Regions from separate parts of the Homo sapiens genome. Here regions 1 and 3 are each linked to region 2. The links are contacts of gene promoters, found by promoter capture Hi-C in blood cells and fetal thymus (Javierre and others, 2016). All regions are on one chromosome and are shown on one strand. The core of a region is centred on a gene start or on the middle of the fragment in contact, and the rest is flanking DNA. Distances in the headings are between cores, read along the strand shown. Region 1 has its middle 27 kb from the start of NSUN4. Region 2 holds the start of TEX38 (testis expressed 38). Region 3 holds the start of FAAH (fatty acid amide hydrolase).

What was found. The method cuts DNA at HindIII sites, captures the fragments that hold promoters and counts their contacts. A CHiCAGO score of 5 or more calls a contact.
Region 1: a fragment that was not itself captured here is called in contact with the fragment with the promoter of TEX38 in region 2 in 1 of 17 cell types (erythroblasts); the score reaches 5.1 in erythroblasts.
Region 3: the fragment with the promoter of FAAH here is called in contact with the fragment with the promoter of TEX38 in region 2 in 6 of 17 cell types (erythroblasts, M0 macrophages, monocytes and 3 more); the score reaches 12.0 in erythroblasts.

Annotation. Positions count from the first base shown.
Region 1 is chr1:46,365,560-46,369,276 of GRCh38, forward strand. It overlaps a transcript of NSUN4 not described here. Among named protein-coding and RNA genes, the nearest start is that of NSUN4, 27 kb to the left of the region's middle. The HindIII fragment of the contact is 730 bases long and covers 1,429-2,158 here.
Region 2 is chr1:46,670,234-46,673,826 of GRCh38, forward strand. It overlaps TEX38 (testis expressed 38), which reads left to right and starts at 1,621. Exons shown (of 2, transcript NM_001145474.4): 1 at 1,621-1,738; 2 at 2,640-3,361. The coding sequence starts at 1,702. The coding sequence ends at 3,223. The HindIII fragment of the contact is 3,767 bases long and covers 634-3,593 here.
Region 3 is chr1:46,391,972-46,395,592 of GRCh38, forward strand. It overlaps FAAH (fatty acid amide hydrolase), which reads left to right and starts at 2,346. Exons shown (of 15, transcript NM_001441.3): 1 at 2,346-2,572. The coding sequence starts at 2,378. RefSeq lists an enhancer at 2,234-2,747. The HindIII fragment of the contact is 1,150 bases long and covers 2,119-3,268 here.

The DNA.
Region 1 (3,717 bases), core at 544-3,043, 300 kb before region 2:
TCGAACTCCTGACCTCAGATGATCCACCTACCTCGGCCTCCCAAAGTGCTAGGATTACAGGTGTGAACCACTGTGCCCAGCCCATGTTTTCTTCTGAGTAAATACTTAGGGGTAGAATTGCTAGGTCATATGGTAAATGTATGTTTAACTTTATAAGGTACCACCATACTGTTTTCCAAAGTGGATCTACCATTTTGCACGGCCATCAGCAATGTATGAGAGGTCCATTTGCTCCACATCTTAGTACTAACACTTAGGATTATCAACGTTAAACTTTATTGTAGTGGGCCGGGCAGTGTGGCTTATGTCTGTAATCCCAGTACTTTGGGAGGCCGAGGCGGGCGGATCACTTAAGGTCAGGAGTTCAAGACCAGCCTGGCTAACATGGGAAAACCCCGTCTGTACTAAAAATGCAAAAATTAGCCGGGTGTGGTGGCACATACCTGTGATTCCAGCTACTTGGGAGACTAAGGCATGAGAATCACTTGCACCCAGGAGGTAGAGGTTGCAGTGAGCTGGGATTGCACCACTGTACTCCAGCCTGGGCAACAGAGGGAGACTCTGTCTCAAAAATAAATAATAAATAAAAACTTCATTCTAGTGGATGTATCTTGATACCTCGTTGTGGTCCTAATTTGCATTTCTCTAATGAGTAGTGATGCTATAAAATTAAATACAATTAAGAATTTAAAAACATGTAAAAAGAACATGTATGCAGTAAAACCATGTAAGAAGGAAAGAATGGTTCTCACTATGGAATTCAGTATAATGGTTCTTAGAGGTAGGGGGATAGGATGGGGCTGGAGGGAACATAAAGTTAGATTATTGTTAAGGCTCTAGCTTTTATGTTTGGTGCTTATTGAATTATTAAAAGCAGCTAAGTTAATAAAAAGTTATACATAAAAATTTGTTATTCATGACAAAAGTGATAAAAGTATGTTATAAACAAAGATTATGATTAATTCAATTTTGTACATCTGAGGTCTCCCTAAAAAAAGAGAAGGGGGTTGGCTGGGCATGGTGGCATGGTGGCTCATGCCTGTAATCCCAGTACTTTGGGAGGCCAAGGCAGGTGGATCACCTGAGGTCAGGAGTTCGAGACCAGGCTGGCCAACATGGTGAAACCCCATCTCTACTAAAAATACAAAAAAAAAAAAAAAAAAAAAAAAAGTGGGTAGAGAACCAAGCCCACAGAGAATAATAATGCAAAATATGGCTTAATGTAGGAGGGATCATATTGAGAGACCTGGAAGCTTAGCAGTATTGCCTCAGTCTTGTTCATGAGCTCCTCTTTCCTTGTGATTTGCAACAGTTGAACCACAGCAGAGGGTCAGGTATTGGGGCAGTTATGGGTCAATATACATTGATAGCTTGGATCTATGGTTTTCACCTTTTAGGAGTCACAAATCTGTTTGAGAGACTGGTAAAAGCTTTGGCCGTTCTCAGAAAAATAAAGACAAAAAACACCATAGCATTTTACATATAATTTCAGGGGCTTTGGTACTTCCTAAGGCCTATCTCCCCCAAGTTAAGAACCTTTGGATTAGAAGATCTCAGATTTGAGGGTCTTTAGTGGAAGGCAAGGGGGTCAAGCAGAGACCCCAGTAACAACTCAAATCACCACTCTCACCCCTGCCAATCTGCCCTTCTTCCCATCTGCATTCTTCATCTCCAAACTTAACACCACCCTTTACCCTGCTGCCCATGCCAGAAACTGCAGCTATCCTTGATGCAGTGACAGTAATCACTACTGTATATCGAACGTACCTGAGCCAGGCCCATGTGAAAAAAGCATTGTTTTACTTACATCATTGTTTCTTACTTTCACAGAAACCCTGGGATATGCTCTTTTTTGTTGTTGCCTATTTATTATAAAACTTTGAAAGAGTTATTCGTTAATTTGAACATTTTCATCCATTTTGTGGCTTTTCTTTGCACTATTTTTATGGTGTGTTTTTATTGCAGGGCAGGCAAGCCTCAAAACTGGGGCTTAGCCTGGGAGAAAGCCAGGAAAGAATTCAAGGGCAAGCTAGTGGTGTTAGACAGCAATCTTTTATTGAACAGTACTGCTCCTTGCAGAGTAAGGCTAACTCATAGGCAGCAAATCCAGAGTCAGCTGATATACTCTTTTTAGTCCCATTTTATAGAGAAGGAAACAAGCTTAGATTGCTTAAGTAACTCAAAAAGTTACAATCTGAAATTTCTTTTTTTTTTTTTTTTTTTTTTAAGACAGGGTCTGGCTCTCACCAGGGTGGAGTGCCGTGGTGTGATCTCGGCTCACTGCAACCTCCGCCTCCCAGGCTCAAGTGATCCTCCTGCCTCAGCCTACTGAGTAGCTGGGACTACAGGCACATGCCACCGCGCCTGGCTAATTTCTGTATTTTTAGTAGAGATGGGGTTTCGCCATGTTGCCCAGGCTGGTCTTGAACTCTTGAGCTCAAGTGATCAGCCTGCCTTGGCCTCCCAAAGTGCTAGGATTACAGGCATGAGCCACTGCGCCCAGCCACAATCTGAAATTCCTTTCTTGAAATGTCGCTTATATTTCTCTCCTTCCTAGCATTCCTACCTTAGGTAGGGCCTTATCATTTCTCACTGATCAAAGGCAGTAGCCTCAAAACTCATTTCTATTACTCCAATCAGCCCTAAATTCTTCCATTCTCCCCCATCCTCTCATGCCACCCCTTATCTGTTGTGTGATCGCCGATCACAATAATTCCTCCCATCCTGTCCCAGTACAATGTGACTTTGCTGCTTCTGTCATTAAGAGATGGAGTCTGTTTCCCCACCTCTTGAATCTGGGCTGATCTTATGATTTGTTTTGACCAGTAAAGTCTGGTGGAAGGGATGCTGTGCAACTTCTGCATGTAGGCCTCAAGAAGCCTCGCAACTTCCACGCTCATTTTGGAGCTCTTCTGCGGCTCTGTGAAGAAGCCTGGACCAATCTGCTGGAGACATGTGCTGGAAGCTGTCTTAGACCTCCTAAGCTCAGTTAAACGGTTAGGTGACCCAAACAGCATGAGTGACCCCAGCCAAGACCAACCTAAATCGCTGACCTCCAGAATCATGAACAAATAAAGTAGTGGTTGTTTTAAGCCAGTAAGTTTTGGAAATGGTTAAGTAAATTTAAATAAAATTTTAACATATGTCATTTGTGTTAGTAAGTAACACAAATCTGAGTGTCATTCATCTGCTTATAATTCTTTGTTCTTTAGGCTGGGCATGGTGGTTCATGCCTGTAATCCCGGCACTTTTGGAGGCCAAGGCAGGAGGGTCGCTTGAAGCCAGAAGTTTGAGACCAGCCTGAGCAACATAGGGAGAACCCATTTTTACAGAAAGATCCTTTGTTCTCTCTCCATTGCCAGCAGGATCAAGTCCAGACTTTTGCCCTGATCCCTGGTTGTTGATGCTGTTTTATCTGTGTCTGTCATGCCTTGCTGCTCCCCTTTTGCACAAATTCTTTGTCTATCCATGCATAGCATACCCCAATGCTTCTGGGTCAGGACAAATTGTCTCCTCTGTCTAAATGCCTTTTCCCTTGTGCTTTCTTGCTAGCTCAAATGTCCACCCCTCTGGAAGCTTTCTCTAATCCTTCTAAAGCTGGGTTGATCCTCTTCTGTGCTCCCCAACCTTCTCTATAATACAATGAATATAGCACTTTCCATGGCCACTTTTTCTTCTTTACCCATCTCCAAACTAGGAATTGTTAGGGACAGTAAG
Region 2 (3,593 bases), core at 371-2,870:
TTGGTTATATTTTGAAATAAAAGCCTAAAGATCTTGCTGATGGAGTCAGTGTGGGTGTGATAGAATGAAAGGAGTCAAGGATGACTTGCAGGTTTTTGGCCTGAACAACCCGAAGGACAGAGATACTACTTATGAAGAGGAGGAAGGCTGTAGGTAGGGTAGACTTTGGAGGATGGATAATCAGAGTTTGGTTTTGGACATGTTGGTTTGGGATAATTTAACAGACTGGCAAGGAGGGATGTCAACCAGGTATTTGGGTATGAGTCTAAAGTTCTGAGGAGCATTCCAGGCTGGAGAGATACAGTTGCGTACTGTCAGTGTATAGTGATATTTAAAGCCAGGGGTCTGGGTGAGATAACTGATGGAATGAATGTAGATAGAGCACTAAGAACTGAGCCCTAGACATGCCTACATTTAGAGATCAGGGGAAAAGGGAGAAACCAGCAAAGGAGACTGGAAAGTAGGGGCCAGTGATATACGAGGAGAACAAGGGTAAGTGGACCCTGGAGAGAATTCTGTGCTAAATAGTTCCCTAAGTCACACATTGGAGGACTATAAAGAGGGGAGTCATTAAAATGGTGCTAAGAAGCTGAGCTACAAGCAGTGGTGCAACATACTGGGAAGGCTGACTTAAGCTTAATTAGGGAAGGGCTTTCTAACTGAGCTGCCCATAAATGCATCAAGCTGCCTCAGGAGGTGGTGAGCAAGTTCCTGACTCAAGTGAGTCTTGAGTCCAGGGAGATTAGTTGCTGTGTGGGGAAAAATCTACCCCCAGGAGTCAAGCATGGCCCTGATGGTGGGATCAGATGGTGGAGATGAACTAGACAACTCTCAAAGTTTCTTCAAATTGGCGATGATATGATTCTGGGCAGTCTGTCACAGAGTAGGGGGGCTGAGCTGAGTCTTGAAGGATGAGCAGGTGTTCAGTGGTGGAAAAGTGGGCAGGGGCACTCCTGGGTGAAGGAGCAGCATGGGCACACCTCCAGAGATGTGAATGAGCAGGGTCTGTTCAGGAGTACGGACTAGGCAAAAGGGAAAAGTGTGTGGAGGACGAGGAGGGAAGTAAGGCTGGAAGTAGATGCAGGCCAGATGGTGGGAAGCCCCACAGGGCCTGGGGCCTGGGAAACACTTGTCAGCACTTGAAGGAAGGTAATTAAATAAAAGACAGATTGTTGGAGCCAAAGAAGGAGGTATTGACCACTTGGTTCCCTTGAGCAGGTTTCTTCCTGCCAACTTGGTTAGATACTTTTTGAGAACAGGGCTGCCCAATGCTGTGTGTTCCTTGTTACATTCCTCACTGGGGACAGGTATCCCATCAACCGTTCCCTAAAGACCAGCAACATCCGTAAGTACCTGAGGGACAATGGCCCTTTTCTGGGGTCTGCTCTGTGGGTTCACCATAAGGGGTAGGTACAGACAATTCAATAGGTGAACCAGTCTCTGATGGAAGTAGTAGTGACATTCCACCCAAAAAATGCCACTGGATGAAGTCCCCTCCTTCCATTAACCCAGGACCACTTCACAAGCACTGCCCCTAGAATGCCCAATTCTCAGAACCCAGTGACCTCTCCTTTAGAGAACAAAGGGCCTGGGCATTCTGGAGACTCTGATTGGCTGGGCAGATGGGCTGACTGGCTGGGCAGATGGGTGGGTGAGTTCCCTCTCCCCAGAGCCATCGGCCAGGTACCAAAGCTCAGCTGTATGGATTCCCAACAGGAGGACCTGCGCTTCCCTGGGAGTAAGTGCTCCTCCAGTCCCTGTCACTGGACTTGTGCCTTAGGGCTTGGGGACAAACACTCAGGGAAGGCCCTTTGCATGGATGGGACAGTGCCTGGCTGCCTGGAGGAGAGCTAAGCAGTTAGGAGATAGTCTACTCTAGAAAACTAAGAATTATTTTAAGGCAAAGACCATGCTCTGATCAACCAGAGAAGATACTATCAATAGCCCAGGACTATCACAGCTGAATGGAATGGGATGGGACATTGGTGTCTCTGTCAACTGATGAACTTTCACTTTTTTTTTTTTTTTTGAGATGAAGTTTTGCTCTGTTGCCCCGGCTGGAGTGCAGTGGCTCAATCTAGGCTCACTGTAACCTCCACCTCCTGGATTCAAGTGATTCTCCTGCCTCAGCCTCTGAAGTAGCTGGGACTGCAGGCATGCACCACCACACCTGGCTAATTTTAAAATTTTTAGTAGAGACGGGGTTTCACCATGTTGGCCAGGCTGGACTTGAAGTCCTGACCTCAAGTGATCTGCCCACCTGGGCCTCACAAAGTGCTGGTGAACTTTTGCTTCTTGATGGACTTGCCCATAGTGAAACTTCTCAGTCTGATGGATTGGATGGGTCCTGGGTTAGGAATCAGAGGCTTGACTGAGCCTGGGCAGCACATGCCCCCGCTAGACCTAGCTTTTGTGATCTGTAAAGAGTTAAAGGTGGTGCTTAAGCTCCCTGGAAATCTAGCTTTGACTGAATAAGGGAATGATGAGGCAAGTCAATAAGGGAGGGAAGGAACGGTGAGAGTAGTTAAGTGGATGGAGCGATTGATGCATGGGTTAAGTGAAAGAGGAATGAGAAACAGCTCAGGCCCCAAGCTACAGCTATCAGCCAGCATGCCTCTTTTTCTTTCTTGCTGCCTTAGTGTGGGTCTCATTGTACTTTGGAATCCTGGGGCTGTGTTCTGTGATAACTGGAGGGTGCATTATCTTTCTGCACTGGAGGAAGAACTTGAGGCGGGAAGAGCATGCCCAGCAGTGGGTGGAGGTGATGAGAGCTGCCACATTCACCTACAGCCCATTGTTGTACTGGATTAACAAGCGACGGCGCTACGGCATGAATGCAGCCATCAACACGGGCCCTGCCCCTGCTGTCACCAAGACTGAGACTGAGGTCCAGAATCCAGATGTTCTGTGGGATTTGGACATCCCCGAAGGCAGGAGCCATGCTGACCAAGACAGCAACCCCAAGGCGGAAGCCCCTGCTCCCCTGCAACCTGCACTGCAGCTGGCTCCACAGCAGCCCCAGGCCAGATCCCCATTCCCACTTCCCATCTTTCAGGAGGTGCCCTTTGCCCCACCCTTGTGCAACCTACCCCCCCTGCTGAACCACTCTGTCTCCTATCCTTTGGCCACCTGTCCTGAAAGGAATGTTCTCTTCCATTCCCTCCTGAATCTGGCCCAGGAAGACCATAGCTTCAATGCCAAGCCTTTTCCTTCAGAACTGTAGCCTCCTCTCACTGAAGGTGGGAGCTGCAGGAATCAGGTGCAGAGTAGGAAATGGAACTAACCTCAGGAAGGTGGTATTGACAGAGGTCAGGACCCACCTGGATGTCATGCTATGAAACATTAAAAGAAAAAAAAAAAAGTCCAAGGCTCCCTCGTTTCTCATTTGCTGTTAGGAAGGCAATGTCCTTCCTGTCTGATGGGGTCACTTTGCAAACCAAGTTGGTTGCTGAGTCTCACCAATATGAACTGGCACTGGTGGTTGGCTGTGGGGAGACACACTGAACCAGTACTTGTGGATGGACTCAATATCCCTCTGTTCAGTATTTAAAACAAAAATGTGTGCCAGGCCCTGGCCTAGGTACCCCAAGGCA
Region 3 (3,621 bases), core at 1,096-3,595, 280 kb before region 2:
GGTTACGGGTTGTCAGTGGCCTCAGTGCTTTTGGGCTACATCCTTGTTTACACTGACAACAAGGTGGTATTGGAGTGTTATAGGGTCATGGAGAAGACCTTCAATTATCAATTACAGGTTTTGAATTTTATCCTGGCTTTTAAAGGAATAGGGTACACTGTTTTCTCTTTACTACTTCTATCTCTCTTTCTCTCTCTCTCTCTTTGACTCTCTCTCTCTTTCCCTGTCTCTGACTCCCTCTCTCTCTCTCTTTTTCTTTTGAGACAGAGTCTAGCTCTATCACCCAGGCTGGAGTGCAGTGGCGCGATCTCGGCTCACTGCAAGCTCCGCCTCCCAGGTTCACGCCATTCTCCTGCCTCAGCCTCCTGAGTAGCTGGGACTACAGGCGCCCGCCACCACGCCTGGCTAATTTTTTTGTATTTTTAGTAGAGATGGGGTTTCACGGTGTTAGCCAGGATGGTCTTGATCTCCTGACCTCGTGATCCACCGGCCTTGGCCTCCCAAAGTGCTGGGATTACAGGCATGAGCCACCACGCCTGGCTTCTGTCTTTCTGTCTCTTTCTCTCTCTGCCTCTCTTTCTCTCTCTTTGCCTCTCTCTTTCTCTCCAACTTCCTCTCCCAGTTTCTCTTTCCTCTCTGCTGGTCTTTCCCTGCCTCTGCCAGCTGCTTATGCTGCTGTTCTCCCCTCTCCTTCCCCTTCCCCTAGGGAAGGGACCGTCAGGAGTGCAGCTACTTTTTCTTCCCCGAGAAGAAAGGAAAGGGGAATTCTGAATATTTTTCTTACTACCGGAGGTTTGTGTGAGGTTTTTGATCCCCTGAAATTTGTGGAAGGCTCAACACCTCAAACCAGGGGGTATCTTGCCTTGCCTGACCTGGAAGGCTCAACCCCTCAAACCAGGGGGTGTTTTGCCTTGCTGCCCTGGAAGGCTCAATCCCTCAAACTAGGAGGTGTCTTGCCTTGCTTCCCTGGAAGGTTGACCTGTTTCCTCCCTTTCCCCCTCTGAAGGTCCTTTGCACACTTCCCACTCGTGTTGTCCTCTCTGGCTGCTCCCCCAAGGGAGAATTAGGCCCCCCTCAGCATTGGCATTCCAGTAGAAATCCCACCGCAGGATCCTCCCTAAGCCATATGAGGTAGCTACGGAAACGTGGAGAGGACCCACTCACTCCGTCCAGCAGTAGGACTTGTCATCATCCACACGAACAACACCACAGGTAGGGTTGTTTGTGATCATTCACGCACACACACATTTAGCCCTCCAGAATTTGACCACCAAGGAAGTACCTTACCGGCTCCCTCGGCTTCTTCCTTTGTCTGTGCACAGAGTTGTCTCTGCAGTGTGTGAGGATGCTTTACCCTAGGTTGCCTGCTGGTTTCTTTTCACATTGCTGAGAGCTCAGGTTATTTCTTGCACTGGGTGAGTCCTGATTTCTCACCCCTGAGGCCATCACAAGAGGGTGGGGCATACCTCCTCAGGAGAGAGAACCAGAGACTGCCCCTGAAGGGGAATGTAATCACGAGCAAGCCCCCAAATTGTTATAAATAAAGTTTCCCCCCAGTGCCGCAAAAGAAATAGCACTCGAATATAAAATTTTCTTTTTTTTCTTCTCAGCAAGGCAATTTACTTCTATAGAAGGGTGCGCCCTCACAGACGGAGCAAAGGTGAGCGCACACCTGGACAAGGGAGGGGAAGGTGGTTCTTATGCCTGACCCACGTGATTCCTGATGCTGTGTCCTTCCCCTGTTGGCTAGGGTTAGACCTATAGGCTAAACTAATTCCGATTGGCTAATTTAAAGACAGTGAGGGGGTGAGTGGTTTGGCGGGAAAAATGGTTACCGCAGAGCAGGAAATCGGAATGAACCACGGTGAAGAATGAGTGAGGGAGGAGCAGGTAATCGAAAAATGTTGCTTTATGAGGAAGTTAAGTTTAAAAGTAGAAGGCAAAGAATTGAAGATACTGACATATTGATTCTTTTAAGATAAATTTAGAACTCATATCTAACAGCTGGCATGTCTGGCATGGGGCTCCGGCTGGGGCGCAGTCTTCAGCATTTGGGGCTCTGGGGTGCAGGGGGCAGAGGACGGCCGGGGCTGTGGTGCCCAACCGGTGCTAAACTCAAGCTTGGGAGGTCGCCCACGAGAAACAGTCGCCCTTCCCCACCCGCCTGCTCGGCTTGGCGGGGAGCGGGATGTCGCTGGGGGCGATGCCAGGCGGGCCGCCTCTGATAGCCTCTAGGCTCTGGCGCGCTTCCCCGCCCCTCCCGCGCAGGCGGGCGTGGGATCCCGGCTGATCCAGTCCGGGTTTTGCGGCGGAGCGGGCGGGCTGCGCGTGCGGCGGCTTCAACTGTCGCGGTAGGCAGCAGCAGGCTGAAGGGATCATGGTGCAGTACGAGCTGTGGGCCGCGCTGCCTGGCGCCTCCGGGGTCGCCCTGGCCTGCTGCTTCGTGGCGGCGGCCGTGGCCCTGCGCTGGTCCGGGCGCCGGACGGCGCGGGGCGCGGTGGTCCGGGCGCGACAGAGGCAGCGAGCGGGCCTGGAGAACATGGACAGGGCGGCGCAGCGCTTCCGGCTCCAGGTGACTGCCGGAGCGTAGTGGGATGGGCGCGGCCTGAGGGTACTCGCAGCGGCACTTTCAGCCGCCGGACCCGCCGAGGGACAGGGGATGGGGCGGGCAGAGCAGATGTGTAACTCTCCAGAATCTCTCCTTGCCCTAAGATATTCCGCACTTTCTGAGCCAGGTAGAGCACGGGGGAAGAAAGGAAACGGTAGTGTCAAGGCAGGTGGTGGAAGGCCTTTCCCTCACTGGGTCAAAGAGGAGTTTTGCTTTGTGCCAAAGAATCTCACGATTGCTGCCTATTGGAATGCGAAAACGCAAGCGTGACAACCAGTGGGATGCCAGGGGTTGAGGACTTTGGAATCGCAGAGTGTAATGGCCAAGGGGATCTGGAGAGCTTAGAGTTTTGTTTTTTGTTTTTTTTTGTTTTGTTTTGAGACGGAGTCTCGCTCTGACTCCCAGGCAAGAGTGCAGTGGTGCGATCTCGGCTCACTGCAACCTCCGCCTCCCGGGTGCAAGCGATTCTTGCTGCCTCAGCATCCCCAGTAGCTGGGATTACAGGGGCCCGCCACTACGCCTGGCTAATTTTTGCATTTTTAGTAGAGACTGGGTTTCACCATGTTGGCCAGGCTGATCTCAAACGCCTGACCTCAGTTGATACACCTGCCTCGGCCTCCCAAAGTGCTGGGCGTGAGCCACCGCGCCTGGCTGAGTTCAAGCTTCTTGATTTGTGCATTTGGATCCTAAGAGGGAGCCAGAAAGAAACCTGCCAAGTGCACAGGGAGATCTTGGCAAAGCCAGGCTAGAAGGGAAGTCTCTCTGGCTCCTGCTGTGGTGTCCAACCCCTGGCAAGCCCTTTCCATGAGCAGGTTTAGTTCCAGCCCTCCGTGGGTGGTCTGTCAACAAGCTTTTCTCCCTGCGCTGCCTTTGGATCACCTCAGTATGTGGGTTTGGAGGCGTGGAAGGGCCTGGCTGAGGGTTTGGAAGATGTGGCTTGAAGAGGGGCTTTTCCTCTGGGTGTGTGAAACACTGACCCCAGTTAAAGCCTTCTTATGTGCTGAGAGAGGGAG